Regions from separate parts of the Homo sapiens genome. Here all the other regions are linked to region 2. The links are contacts of gene promoters, found by promoter capture Hi-C in blood cells and fetal thymus (Javierre and others, 2016). All regions are on one chromosome and are shown on one strand. Each heading gives the region's core, a stretch centred on a gene start or on the middle of the fragment in contact. The rest is flanking DNA. Distances are from core to core; before and after follow the strand shown.

The links. Contacts are between HindIII fragments. The CHiCAGO score rates a contact against its expected background, and 5 or more counts as called.
Region 1: a fragment that was not itself captured here is called in contact with the fragment with the promoter of MYOZ2 in region 2 in 2 of 17 cell types (naive CD8 T cells and M1 macrophages); the score reaches 5.9 in naive CD8 T cells.
Region 3: a fragment that was not itself captured here is called in contact with the fragment with the promoter of MYOZ2 in region 2 in 8 of 17 cell types (M2 macrophages, naive CD8 T cells, naive CD4 T cells and 5 more); the score reaches 8.1 in M2 macrophages.

Annotation. Positions count from the first base shown.
Region 1 is chr4:119,225,686-119,229,810 of GRCh38, forward strand. All of the region lies in intron 3 of USP53 (ubiquitin specific peptidase 53), which reads left to right. Among named protein-coding and RNA genes, the nearest start is that of USP53, 15 kb to the left of the region's middle. The HindIII fragment of the contact is 4,958 bases long and covers 1-4,125 here.
Region 2 is chr4:119,133,116-119,137,561 of GRCh38, forward strand. MYOZ2 (myozenin 2) reads left to right here and starts at 2,717. Exons shown (of 6, transcript NM_016599.5): 1 at 2,717-2,867; 2 at 3,397-3,486. The coding sequence starts at 3,411. LOC102723967 (a long non-coding RNA gene) reads left to right here. Exons shown (of 3, transcript XR_001741422.1): 3 at 1-439. The HindIII fragment of the contact is 2,789 bases long and covers 1,608-4,396 here.
Region 3 is chr4:119,247,646-119,251,680 of GRCh38, forward strand. It overlaps USP53 (ubiquitin specific peptidase 53), which reads left to right. Exons shown (of 19, transcript NM_001371395.1): 7 at 1,103-1,237. Among named protein-coding and RNA genes, the nearest start is that of USP53, 37 kb to the left of the region's middle. The HindIII fragment of the contact is 1,583 bases long and covers 1,501-3,083 here.

The sequences.
Region 1 (4,125 bases), core at 423-2,922, 92 kb after region 2:
CTGAGATTGCGCCACTGCACTCCAGCCTGGGCGACACAGCGAGACACTGTCTCAAAAACAAAAACAAAACAAACAAAGAAAAAAAAATTCAGTAACAAAATCAGACAAAGATATCACAAGAAAACTACAGACTGAAAATCCCTCATGAATACAGATGTAAAAGTTATTTAAAATTTATTAGCAAATTAAGTCCAAAATGCATAAAAAGAATAGGTTTTGATAAATTGGCATCATCGACAGGAATACAAGGTTGATTTAACACTTGAAAATCATTGTAATATACTGCATTAAGACTCAGAATCATATAATCATCTTAGTATTTACAAAATTTAAAAGTTTTGACAAAATTCAACAACCATTTAAACTGTCAACAAATAGAATCATATAATCATCTCAGTATTTACAAAATTTAAAAAATTTTGACAAAATTCAACAACTGTTTAATATAAAAGTTTCAACAAAGTAGGAATAAAGGGGAACTTACCCAACCTGATACAGATACCTGTAAAAATCTACAGCTAACCCTACACATAAGGTTAAAGACTGAATGATTTCATCTCAGATTGGAAGCAAGATTAGTATTTCTGTTCTTACTTCTTCCTTTTGGCATTGTACAGGACGTCCTACCTACCCAGTTAAGTAGGGCAAGAACAAGATGAAAGAGGCTTACAGATTAGAAAGCAAGAAGTAAAAGTATCTAAGAAATCTATACAATAGCTCCTAGAACTAAGGTTGCAGTTTTTATTGTCAGTACAAAAAATCAATTATATTTCTGCATGTTAGTAATGAAAAATTGGAAACCAAAATTGAAAACATCATTTACTATAATGTCAAAAAAAGATGAAAAACTTAGAGATAAATTTAAAAATATATATGTATAACCTGTACACCTAAATTAGCAAAACATTTCTAAGAGAAAGAAGACCTAAAAAAATGTAGAAAGACATAATATTCCTAGATTGGAGGTCTCAATATTGTTAAGACGTTATTTATTTTTTTTGAAAGAGTGTGGTTTTGGTATAATTCTAGACATACCTGAAATATTTATAATTCATTTAAAGTAATGGCAAAAAGCACAATTACTTTTGGACCAACCTAGTAGAATAGAGAGACCAGAAATATATCTACTATGTAAGTAATCAGTTAATTTTTTGTTTTTGTTTTGAAACAAGGTCTCACACTCTGTCACCCAAGCTGAAGTGTAGTGGCACAATCACAGCTCACTGCAACCTCTACCTTCCAGGCTCACTCGATCCTCCCACCTCAGCCTCCTGAGGAGCTGGGACTATATAGGCATGTGCCACCATGCCCAGCTAATTTTTGTACTTTTGTAGATGGTTCTTACTGTGTTGCCCAAGGTGCTCTCAAACTCCTGGGCTCAAGTGATCCTCCCACCTCAGCCTCTCAAAGTACTAGGATTGCAGGCATGAGCCACTGTGCCTGGCTATAATCAATTAATTTTTGACAAAGTATTCCAAAGCAATTTAGGGAAAGCATACTCATTTTAAAAAATGGTGCTGGAAAATTAGATTTTGTTTGGACAAAATTAATCCAAAGCCTTGTCTAACACTACACACACACACACACACACACACACACACACACACACACACAAACTTGAAATGAATCATAGAGCTAACCATAAGAGCCAAAACTTTAAAACCTCTACAGGGCCGGGCGCTGTGGCTCACGCCTGTAATCCCAGCACTTTGGGAGGCCGAAGCGGGCAGATCACGAGATTGCGACCATCCTGGCTAACTGGGTGAAACCCCGACTCTACTACAAGTACAAAAAATTAGCCGGGCGTGGTGGCGGGCGCCTGTAGTCCCAGCTACTCGGGAAGCTGAGCCAGGAGAAGTGGCGTAAACCCGGGAGGCGGAGCTTGCAGTGAGCCGAGATCGCGCCACTGCACTCCAGCTTGGGAGACAGAGCGAGACTCCGTCTCAAAAAAGAAAGAAAAAAAATTGCATAGTATTCAAAAACTTAGGAAGGCACTTTGGCAATTTTCTATAAAGTTAAACATGCATTTACAATACAACCTAGCAGTCCCACTGCTAGGTATTTACAAGAGAAATGTATCCACAGAAAGACTTGTACTTGAATGTGTATAGTTACTTTATTCATAATAACCCCAAAATGGAAACAACTGCAATTAATCTCCCTTTACCAGTAGTAAAGAGATAAGCAAAAGAATATTACTCAGTAATAAGGAATGTACAACTTCTGATTTGTGCAGCAATACAGATGAAACTCAAAAGTATGAGTCCATTTATGAGAAATTCTAGAGAAGTTGAAACTAGGACAGAAAGTGTATCAGTGTTTTCTTGCAGGTTGAATGTATTAATTTTCTATTACTATGTAACAAATTACCACAACAGCTTAAAACAATGCACATTTATTATTTCACAGTGTTAGTAGGTCAGAAGTCTAGGTCGTTTTTAACTGGATTCTGTGCTCTGGATCTTACAAGAGTGGTCAAAGCATCAAATGGGCTGGCCTTTTATCTGGAGGCCCTAAGGAAGAAGAATCTGCTTCTGGGTTCATTCAGGTTGTTGGCAGAAGTATTTCCTTGTAGGAGCGAGGTTCCTGTTTCTTTGTTAGCTGTCAACCAGGATCTGTTCTCTCATGTTGAGGCCCCCTCCACCTTTAAAGCAGCAATGGCACATCAAGTCTTTCTCATGCTTCAAATCTCTCTTTTTCTGTCACCAGCCAGAGAAAGCACTCTGCTTTTAAGGATTCATGTGATTACATTAGGCCCAACCAGATAATCGCCATATTTTTAGGTCAACTGCGCCATATAACATAATGAGATAATGGAATACATATCTTGTCATATTTACAGGTTTCTATAGGGTATGAAATCTGGGGATGGGGGTGTGGGTGCACTGTGGTAGAATTCTGCCTACCACAGTGAGGAAGGTTATTGACTGTGAAGGGGCACAGGAGAGCTTCTCAGGGTGATGGAAATGTTCTATAGCTTGATTGTGGTAATGGTTACATGACTGTAGGTTTGTCAAAACTTACTGAACTGTACACTAATGGGATGAATTTTATTGATTACAACTTACACCTCCAAAGCTGGTTAACTTAAACATCCTATGTACAAAAATATTGTACGTAGGAAAATTAGCTGTCACTGAGATACTAGTGACCTCTGAATTGTTTAATTTGGATCTTACTGAACAGAAAATAGACTAAAATATAAATAGAAAAAGTAATATAAAATAGAAGGAAGAGTAAGGAAAACTACAGTTGCGTGTGTAAGTAGATTTAGATGAATAAAAGGGAGGAAGGAGTTAATTACTGGCTGTTCCTATAGACCTTCTGTTAGAGTTAGATTCCCTCTACTCTGCCTTCCTTTTTGCTACCCAGGTATTCAGCCTGGGGATTATAAATCTGAATGGTCTTAGCAACATCAGCTCTAGACCTCTGTCAGATACAATAGCAATTGCGTGCAACATAGACTGTAGTGGCTATCTGTTGTCATCCATCCAGCCATCTATATATGGTGCTATTATGTGAAATAAAGACTAAAATATTGTCCTTTTGGCTCCAGTATAATAATTACTACCATAAACCTGGTGTTTCTGATATTCTTTCAGGCTGCCACTTTTCTCACTCGCATGTCCTTTCTTTACCATTTCATCTATTCTTATGGTTTCTTATGTTTATATGTTCATGACTTGAAAATCCATTATGTCCAACCCTAAACTCTTCCCCAGGATTACCTTTTGAATCTAAATATTTACTGGGTCTCTCCCCTTGAATGTTCTGTAGAAACTCATTCATTTTATCCCAAATGGAACTCAATATTTTCTCTCAAACAAGCTCATTTTCCTATAAATACTATTTGAGTTGGTATAACAGTCCTACTACCATTCACTCTAGAAACCTGGGAACTTTCTTTACTTTCCTCTCTGCTTCATAGGTTTTGTGGACTTTACTTCTGAAAGAGTGTCATATTCATCCCCTGTTTATGCTACCACTGCCCTTGTGCAGGCCTATGTCATCTCTCCTGTGCATTCCTTCACCAGCCTCCCAATTTACCCCTTCTACTTGCAGATTAATTTACCTCAAATTCATCTTATTCATTGCCATGGTCTATTTATACCACAAGTCTGATTG
Region 2 (4,446 bases), core at 1,467-3,966:
CAGTTGATTACTCTAAAATTCTAAATCCTACCATATTGCAGAAATAATAATAGCAAAAGGAAAAAAATCATTTATTAAATTTTTACTAAGTATAAGGAATTTCTAAATTGTCCCATGTAAAATGTCCATGACTTTATGTGATAGATACTGTAATCACCATTTTACAGATGAGAAAACAGAGTTTAAAAGACTTGTCTAATAGCATACTATGGTAAAGGCTACAGCCAGGAACATACGGGCACTCAAGGGATTTTGAGAGGGAATTTAAATTTATTTGCTTTGGCAAAATTGTTTCTCATTTGATACCTAATTATACTTTCAATGCAAATGGTTTGTTTAGAAACAATTGCAATAGGTTAGCTAGATTAGCTTAAACCTGCTATCTACAACCTTTAGCTTTCTCTTTTTTTTTTTTTTTAAACAAGGTCTGGTCTTGCCCGGGCTGGAGTGCGGTGGCTTGATCATGGATTACTGCAAACTCTACCTCCTGGACTCAAGCAATCTTCCCACCCCAGCCTTTGGAGTAGCTGAGATTATAGGTGCATGCCACTCACCTGGCTAATTTTTGGGTTTTTTGTTTTTGTTTTTGCTTTTTTGGTAGAGGCAGAGTTTTGCTAGCTGGCCTAGGCTGGTCTCAAACTCCTGGGCTCAAGCGATCCACCCACCTTGGCCTCCCAAAGTGCTGTGATTTACAACCTTAAACTTTCAATCCTATGATCAGGCACCAAAATGTATAACCGATTTCAATCTTATAAAATACAATTCCTCCCACAAATAGCCACCACCTTTGTACATTCAAGCGACTGTTCATTTGAATTCCAAACTCATGCCAAACCTTTAATGCATTCTGCAGTTAATCTCCAACCTACTCATTTATTCATTCATTCAATGAATATTGAGTGCTTACCATATGCCAGATACAATTCCAACTGCTGAAGATACAAAGCCCAAGCCATTATAGGATTCATAGTTTAGTAGAAAAAAGAGATATCACATAAATAGATGCAACCTCTACCTCCTGGACTCAAGCAATCTTCCCACCCCAGCCTTCAGAGTAGCTGGGATTACAGGTGCTAGTAAAACTGTTGAGGACGCCATTTCAACCTTTAGAATTGTACATAACATAAACTTTTGCTAGATAGATAGATAGATAGATAGATAGATAGATAGATAGATAGATAGATAGATAGAATAATGTTGGCATGTTCTTAGTGAAAAAACTGAGTTGTCACTCAGCAACAATTATTTCTTTGTTAGTAAGTTATGTATGAATTTTAATTGGGCTCATGACCACCTAGAATAGAAGCTACACTTCCCAACCTTTCTTGAGTTATGTACGGCTATATGGCTAAGTTCTGCCCAATGGGATGTAAACAGAAGTATGAACAAAATATCAGACATGTTCTGAAAAGAAGACAGTGTTCCCTTCTCATTTTTTTTTCTTTTTCCTGCTGGTTGAAATATATGCATGCTGACTGGAGCTGGGGCAGCCAATTAGGCCCAAGGGGTCTGCATTTTAGGGATAGTGGAGCAAAAAGTTAGAGGGTAACTGAGCCCTTGATAATTATGTCAGTCATGCAAACCCTCAATTACTTACTTCTAGACTAAGCTTACCTGTGAGAGAAACATCTTCCATCTTTTTACAGTTCTGTTTTGGGGGGGTTTCTGTCACTCCCATTTGACTTTTATCTTAACTAATAGAAAAATATAAAGAAAATGAAGCAGAGTAAGGGACTAGAGAGTGGCACAGTGTGATATTTTAGACAAGGTGATAAGGGAAGGATTTTATGAGGGATTGTTATCTGAGCAGAGTCCTGAATGCATGACTGTGCCATGTGAGTAGAGGGAAAGTATGGAAGGGGGAAATAGTAAAAGGAATACAGTATCTATTTTCATTTTGGAAACCAAAATTAACATAATGATTATCTGTTGAGGACACCATTTCAACCAGGGAAAGGGGGAAATAGTAAAAGGAAAGGGGGAAACAGTAAAAGGAAAAGCCCAGAGATGAGAGCACGTTTTTGTGTCCAGGGACCATCAAGGAGGCCAAACCTTTTGACAGGCAAACCTTTCAAATCTTGTCAGGCCTGCAAATGAAAATCCTTGACCCTAGACATTGTAAAGACTGGTCAACTTTGCAGGGACTGGTCTCTGTAGGCCCTTCAAAAAGCATGACCCAGTTATGAGTCTCAGCTTTTACCCAGCTTCATGGCTTATCCTCTAATGGTTCATTTCAAAATGCTTCCTGAGTTCACTATTCAAATACTACATACTTTTCTCAACCTAGCATGAGTTCTCACTACAGCTTAAGAACTGGCTCTATTGATCCACCCCACATTACTTCCTTTCTTCTTGAGTCTACATAGATATTACTGCCTATATTGTTCATTTTAATTATGAAAAATCTATCATTCTGTTCTGATTCATGCATGTGTCTCTTGCCACCTCAATTAACATGTAACATAAGAGCTAGATGTTTAAAAGTGTTTAAAATCCCTTTTGGCTACTATCTGTTCAACAGAAAGTGCTCACTAAAAACTTTCTGCATGTCCAATGAACGTTTCATTTAACCATCTCACAAACTAGAAACACAATGGAGAGAGCCTAATCTTTCCCTGTTCCTCCCTTTCGCCAGGAAGATATGAGTAGCTAAAGTATTTGGTGCTATATATAGCCAGTTGATGTCAGCTGAATGCCAGTCTCTTCAGAAAAGCTCAGTCCCCAGTTTGAGTCAGAGTAGGGACCATGCTGTCCCAGGTTCAAGGATAAAAACCATCAGGCCCAAGTGCCATCCATAGTCCATCTCCAGAGTCTTCCTCCACAAACTGGGATTCATCCCCGCTGAAAAAGCACAATCTAACAGCAAGGTGAGTATGTTGTTTCCTAAAATGTTTCATTAGTCAGTTGTCCAAGGATATTCAGAGTTGTGACTCATAAATGGGCATTCTCTGCTTTAAAGGGCAGCTGTTGCCAATATTAAAATGCTACCACCAAAGAATTCTGGTTTAGTCTAGTGTCTTCTTCATTCTTACAGTTTGCTGGAATTGATGGAGTGTGATGCTGGTACAAATGAAGGCCAGTGAGGAGACAATGACAGACTAAAATACTGTGGAGAAAAGAGAGGGAGGGGAAAGGAGACCAGCAATTTCATTGTTTCTCACTGCCTGATGATCATTGTATTAATGTCCAGACTGGGTCTCTGTTCACTGTGACATTGCCTGTCAATGAATAACATACTCTGTCACCAGATAAGGAATGCGTATTGAAGTCTTTCAGTAGCAAGCGATAATAACTTTTTAATAAAGAACAAAGATGTTGTCTTTCAAAACAGTGATTATAAGACACTCCAAATGAGTTCTTCACATTGCCTCAATAATGTCCCTTTGTTTTTAACAGGGAACAAAAAAACCATGCTATCACATAATACTATGATGAAGCAGAGAAAACAGCAAGCAACAGCCATCATGAAGGAAGTCCATGGAAATGGTATCAATAAAAATCCTTCGTAGCATTAATATAGCACAGCATGAATGTGGCTCCATCCTGACGTTGTTTAATATTCCATAGTTTACTTCCTTTAGATTCTTGCTGTTCTGTCATAACAAACCTGGAGCTCTAGGGGGTGTAGAAAAGCCTATGGTAACTAATCCTTTTGTAGTCATCCTTTCTCATTTGGAAGCTATTTTCAGAGGAACAACTGCTGTAAAAGGCATGAAGCAATCTGACAGCTGATGTACATTCTGCTTGGCTTGCCTTCCACATTATAAGTTAAGATCACTCTCGATTCTTTTTTTTTTCTGGACAAGTCTCATACAATCTTGTCTTTATTGTCCATCCCACATGGTTTAGCTTGATTTCTTTTACCTTACATTATATAAATCACTCAAAATAAGTTCTATCATCTTTTTTATCAAGCTATTAAGTTGGAATTCATATTTATTGCTTATTATTTAACTCCATTTCTATTGCTTATTTATTTAACCCTTCATATTTGTTAATTGATTTACTAACATATTTTGTGTGCAAAGTCTACTTTTATTTGTAACTTCTGAGAAAATATAAAGTTATTGTAGTCTCAAAGCATATGACTCAAAAAAATTTTAATATATATTACGTGCAAGGTAATATTTCACTCTCTCCTTTTCTTTAAATTCTAGCAACTAACTTGAGAAAGCAATGCTTTATAACTTGCATTTTGATTCTTATAAAGGAAATTCAACTTTGTTTATAAGCAACGTATAGCATCAGTTTTAAATGTTAAGAAAAATATTCAGGTCCTCTTAGGAGCTGATTTGAGCCATTCCAGATATATTAGTGGCATTTTCAGAATGCCTCCTTATTTCCCCTGTATTGACAAGGAATGCAGCCTTTCACCACTACAATATTGAGACCTAGAAGCTTGAGACCCGGGAAGAGTATTGAGCATAATGTTTTCATATTACACCT
Region 3 (4,035 bases), core at 1,042-3,541, 110 kb after region 2:
CCATTTTTCTAGGGTAGAACAATGCCTAACATATACGAGGGAGGCAAAAAATATATGTTGAATCAATGAGTGACAGTCTCGCATAGGATTAAAAATCTTAAACATTACCTGGAAGTTAATTGCCTAAATAAGAGATAAAATCTGAAAGTTATTTTTCATCTTTTACTATTCATAATTTTAGCTACTATAATGGCTAAAATAATTATAGTTCTGGGTATCTAATATCAGATGACATCTGTTTTTTTATTTCTTATTTTATTTATAAATTGTATTTTTTTGCTGTAGTGAAACAGATTTGTGAAATGTTTTCTTTGTATGTTGATCTTAAAAAAATATTTTTTTTTTGAGATGACATGACCCTTTGAGCTAACATGGGACTGAATGTGACCAATACTACTTTGGTGGGCTGTCATTGAAAACTTTTCTTTCTTCCATGTAAGATGATTGTCATAAAATTGGAATTTATTAAAATGTTTTTTCTTGCTTAAGTTTAATAAGGAAAATTGAAAATCATATTAACAACTATAATCTCATATTTCCAGTTTCTTAGGTTTAGATTAGAAACTGAATGATGTTTCCAGTTTCTTAATTTAGATTAGAAATACAGGTTGGGTATCTCTTGTCTGAAATGCTCAGGACCAGCAGTGTCCTCTGAGGGTGGGACCTGGGAACCCTATATGTTTAATTCTTGTGTCTGCTAACATTTGATTTAGAGGCTGGTGCAAACATTTCTACACTTGATGATACAAATAATTAATTTTTGTATGAAATTTTAGAGCAAAAGACTTCTGTATTATTTTCCGAAATACAGGTTGGGTATCTCTTGTCTGAAATGCTCAGGACCAGCAGTGTCCTCTGAGGGTGGGACCTGGGAACCCTACATGTTTAATTCTTGTGTCTGCTAACATTTGATTTAGAGGCTGGTGCAAACATTTCTACACTTGATGATACAAATAATTAATTTTTGTATGAAATTTTAGAGCAAAAGACTTCTGTATTATTTTCCAAGTATAGTGTTTTGAGTTTCTCTGTGTTGTAATGAAATTACTGAAATGTCGTTAAAGCTGGCATTAAACTTACTGATTTTCTTGTCGATTCCCAGACGATATTTGCACAGTTCCAACACAGTCGAGAAAAAGCACTTCCCTCAGATAACATAAGGCATGCTCTTGCAGAAAGTTTCAAAGATGAGCAGCGATTTCAACTTGGCCTTATGGATGATGCTGCGGAGTGCTTTGTAAGTGTTTCTGATATTCCTTAAGAAGTCAGGATAGTAGTTTTCATTCCTTAGATGGTACAAGTGTTGAGACAAATGAAACAAAAATTTAGAACAATAGAAAAATGTCAAAACTGTCCAGTAGATCCATATCTTACCCATCCTTCAAGCCTCAACTTCAATCCATCTGTGTTTTGTGTTGTACTTTTGGTTTTGATTATTTTTGTTGCTCTAATTTTTACTCTTAGGCTACTAAAATGTTTTAAAACTTAGTTGGAGCAATAAGCTTTGCTGAATATAAATGATATCACTTAAATCAGTGTTCTGCCACTATAGGGACCACATATGCAGCACATTCCCAGCAGTAATAGTTATCATTGCATGCAATGATTCTCACTGGGAGAGAAGGGGATTTTGGTGGGATTTTGGTGGGTAACAGGGGCAACAGCCTGTTACACACATTCCAGGTTGAAAATCACTGAGGTTGATGTTCTCAGGCTCTGTGTTACCACCATATTAGTAAGTAGAGCATTCCTTTGATCAGGTACATACTTTATACATGTAAAATAGGTATGTTAATTATTAAATGTCTCATTAATATTGATGTCACCTATAATTAAGTTGTAACCATTTCTTCTCTCTTCTTTCTGTTTCTAGTCAGCAAAGTTTGTAAATTCTTTCATCAGAAACCCTTTCAGAAGTTTTTTCTTTCCGTATTAATTCCCTACCACAACTTCTTCCAGTTCAGTATATTTAAGCCTCCTATTGGTGTCCATTCAACCTGTTTATTTATGTCCTATTTTTTTTTTTTTTTTTTTTTTGAGACAGAGTCTCGGTCTGTCACCCAGGCTGGGGTGCAGTGGTGTGATCTCGGCTCACTGCAAGCTCCACCTCCTGGGTTCACACCATTCTCCTGCCTTAGCCTCCTGAGTAGCTGGGACTACAGGTGCCCGCCACCATGCCCGGCTAATTTTTTGTATTTTTAGTGGAGACAGGGTTTCACTGTGTTAGCCAGGATGGTCTCGATCTCCTGACCTCGTGATCTGCCTGCCTCAGCCTCCCAAAGTGCTGGGATTACAGGCGTGAGCCACTGCGACTGGCCTTATGTCCTATTTTTTAAATAACCACCATATCAATATGATTTTATTCAGGTTAACGCTTACTCTTCAAATATTTCTGTGATTTAAATCTAGACTTTTTATTCTGATATTTAAGGCCCTTTAGATTAAACTCCACCTTCCCTCAGTGCTTCATCCCTAGATTTTTCTTCCTAGTGAGATTATTCCATTCTGTTCCTCACATATATTTTTATATTCTTGTTTATAGTCCTTATTTATAAGGCTGTTCTACTAGCAGCCTTTGCTCAAGTTCCTGAAATACTCAAAACTTTAAAAATCTATCATTTTGTCAAGGTTCAGACTAAGTCTATGCCTACCAGATAACACATGACCAAACCACCCAATCCATTCTCTGTAGAATTTACTCTGTAGAATTCATTTGGCATTTTTATATTATTAATCACCTTTTTAAAAATGAGCATCTTCATGGTTTCCTTAGATGGAAAGCTCATTGACTAGCATCTTGCCTAGCACACTTGCATGTTGATTAAAATGTCAATAATGGCACACACAGTAATGAAATATACTTTCCATATTTCTTCTGTTTATAATTGATTTTTTGCTTAAAACAAATATATTTTGAACAATGCTAAACTTTATAGTTTTACTTTCACTTAAATGAATTATTCTAATACATGATATGATAATTCACAAAATGTCTAGAAGTCTAGGCTTAAATTATTAAATGGTCTTAAATATCCTGGGGCAGAGGAGAGAGAAGTTAGCTAATGAATAGAATCCATTGGTTAAGCTTTGGTAAAAAGAATTATGTTAAAGAAATAAATGCCCCTTATTGATCTATATTGTAAATCAATATTTATATGAAATTCACTGCAGATTGCATTGCCTGCATTATGGTGTTAGTGTAGATATAGAGCCTTTGTTTTGCTGTTATTTATACAGACTACCTAGATGATTCAAGTAGGATTTTTTTTTTTAATTATACTTTAAGTTCTGGGTTACATGTGCAGAACTTGCAGTTTTGTTACATAGGTATACACGTGGCATGATGGTTTGCTGCACCCATCAACCTGTCACCTACATTAGGTATTTCTCCTAATGTTATCCCTCCCCTAGCCCCCCACCCCCCACAGGCCTCAGTGTGTGATATTCCCCTCCCTGTGTCCATGTGTTCTCATTGTTCAACTCCCACTTATGAGTGAGAACATGTGGTGTTTGGTTTTCTGATCTTGTGACAGTTTGCTGAGAATGATGGTTTCCAGCTTCATCCATGTCACTGCAAAGGACATGAACTCATCCTTTTTTGTGGCTGCATAGTATTCCAAGGTGTATATGTGCCACATTTTCTTAATCCAGTCTATCATCGATGAACATTTGGGTTGGTTCCACGTCTTTGCTATTGTGAATAGTGCCACAATAAACATACCTGTGTATGTGTCTTTATCCTAGAATGATTTATAATCCTTTGGGTATATACCCAGTAATGGGATTGGTGGGTCAAATGGTATTTCCAGTTCTAGGTCCTTGAGGAATCTCCACACTGTCTTCCACAATGGTTGAACTAATTTACACTCCCATCGACAGTGTAAAAGCATTCCTATTTTTCTGCAACCTCTCCAGCATCTGTTGTTTCTTGACTTTTTAATGATAGAGTTTTCTAAATATACAATCATGTCATCTGCAAACAGAGACAATTTGACTTCGTCTCTTCCATTTTGAATACCCTTCATCACTTTCTCT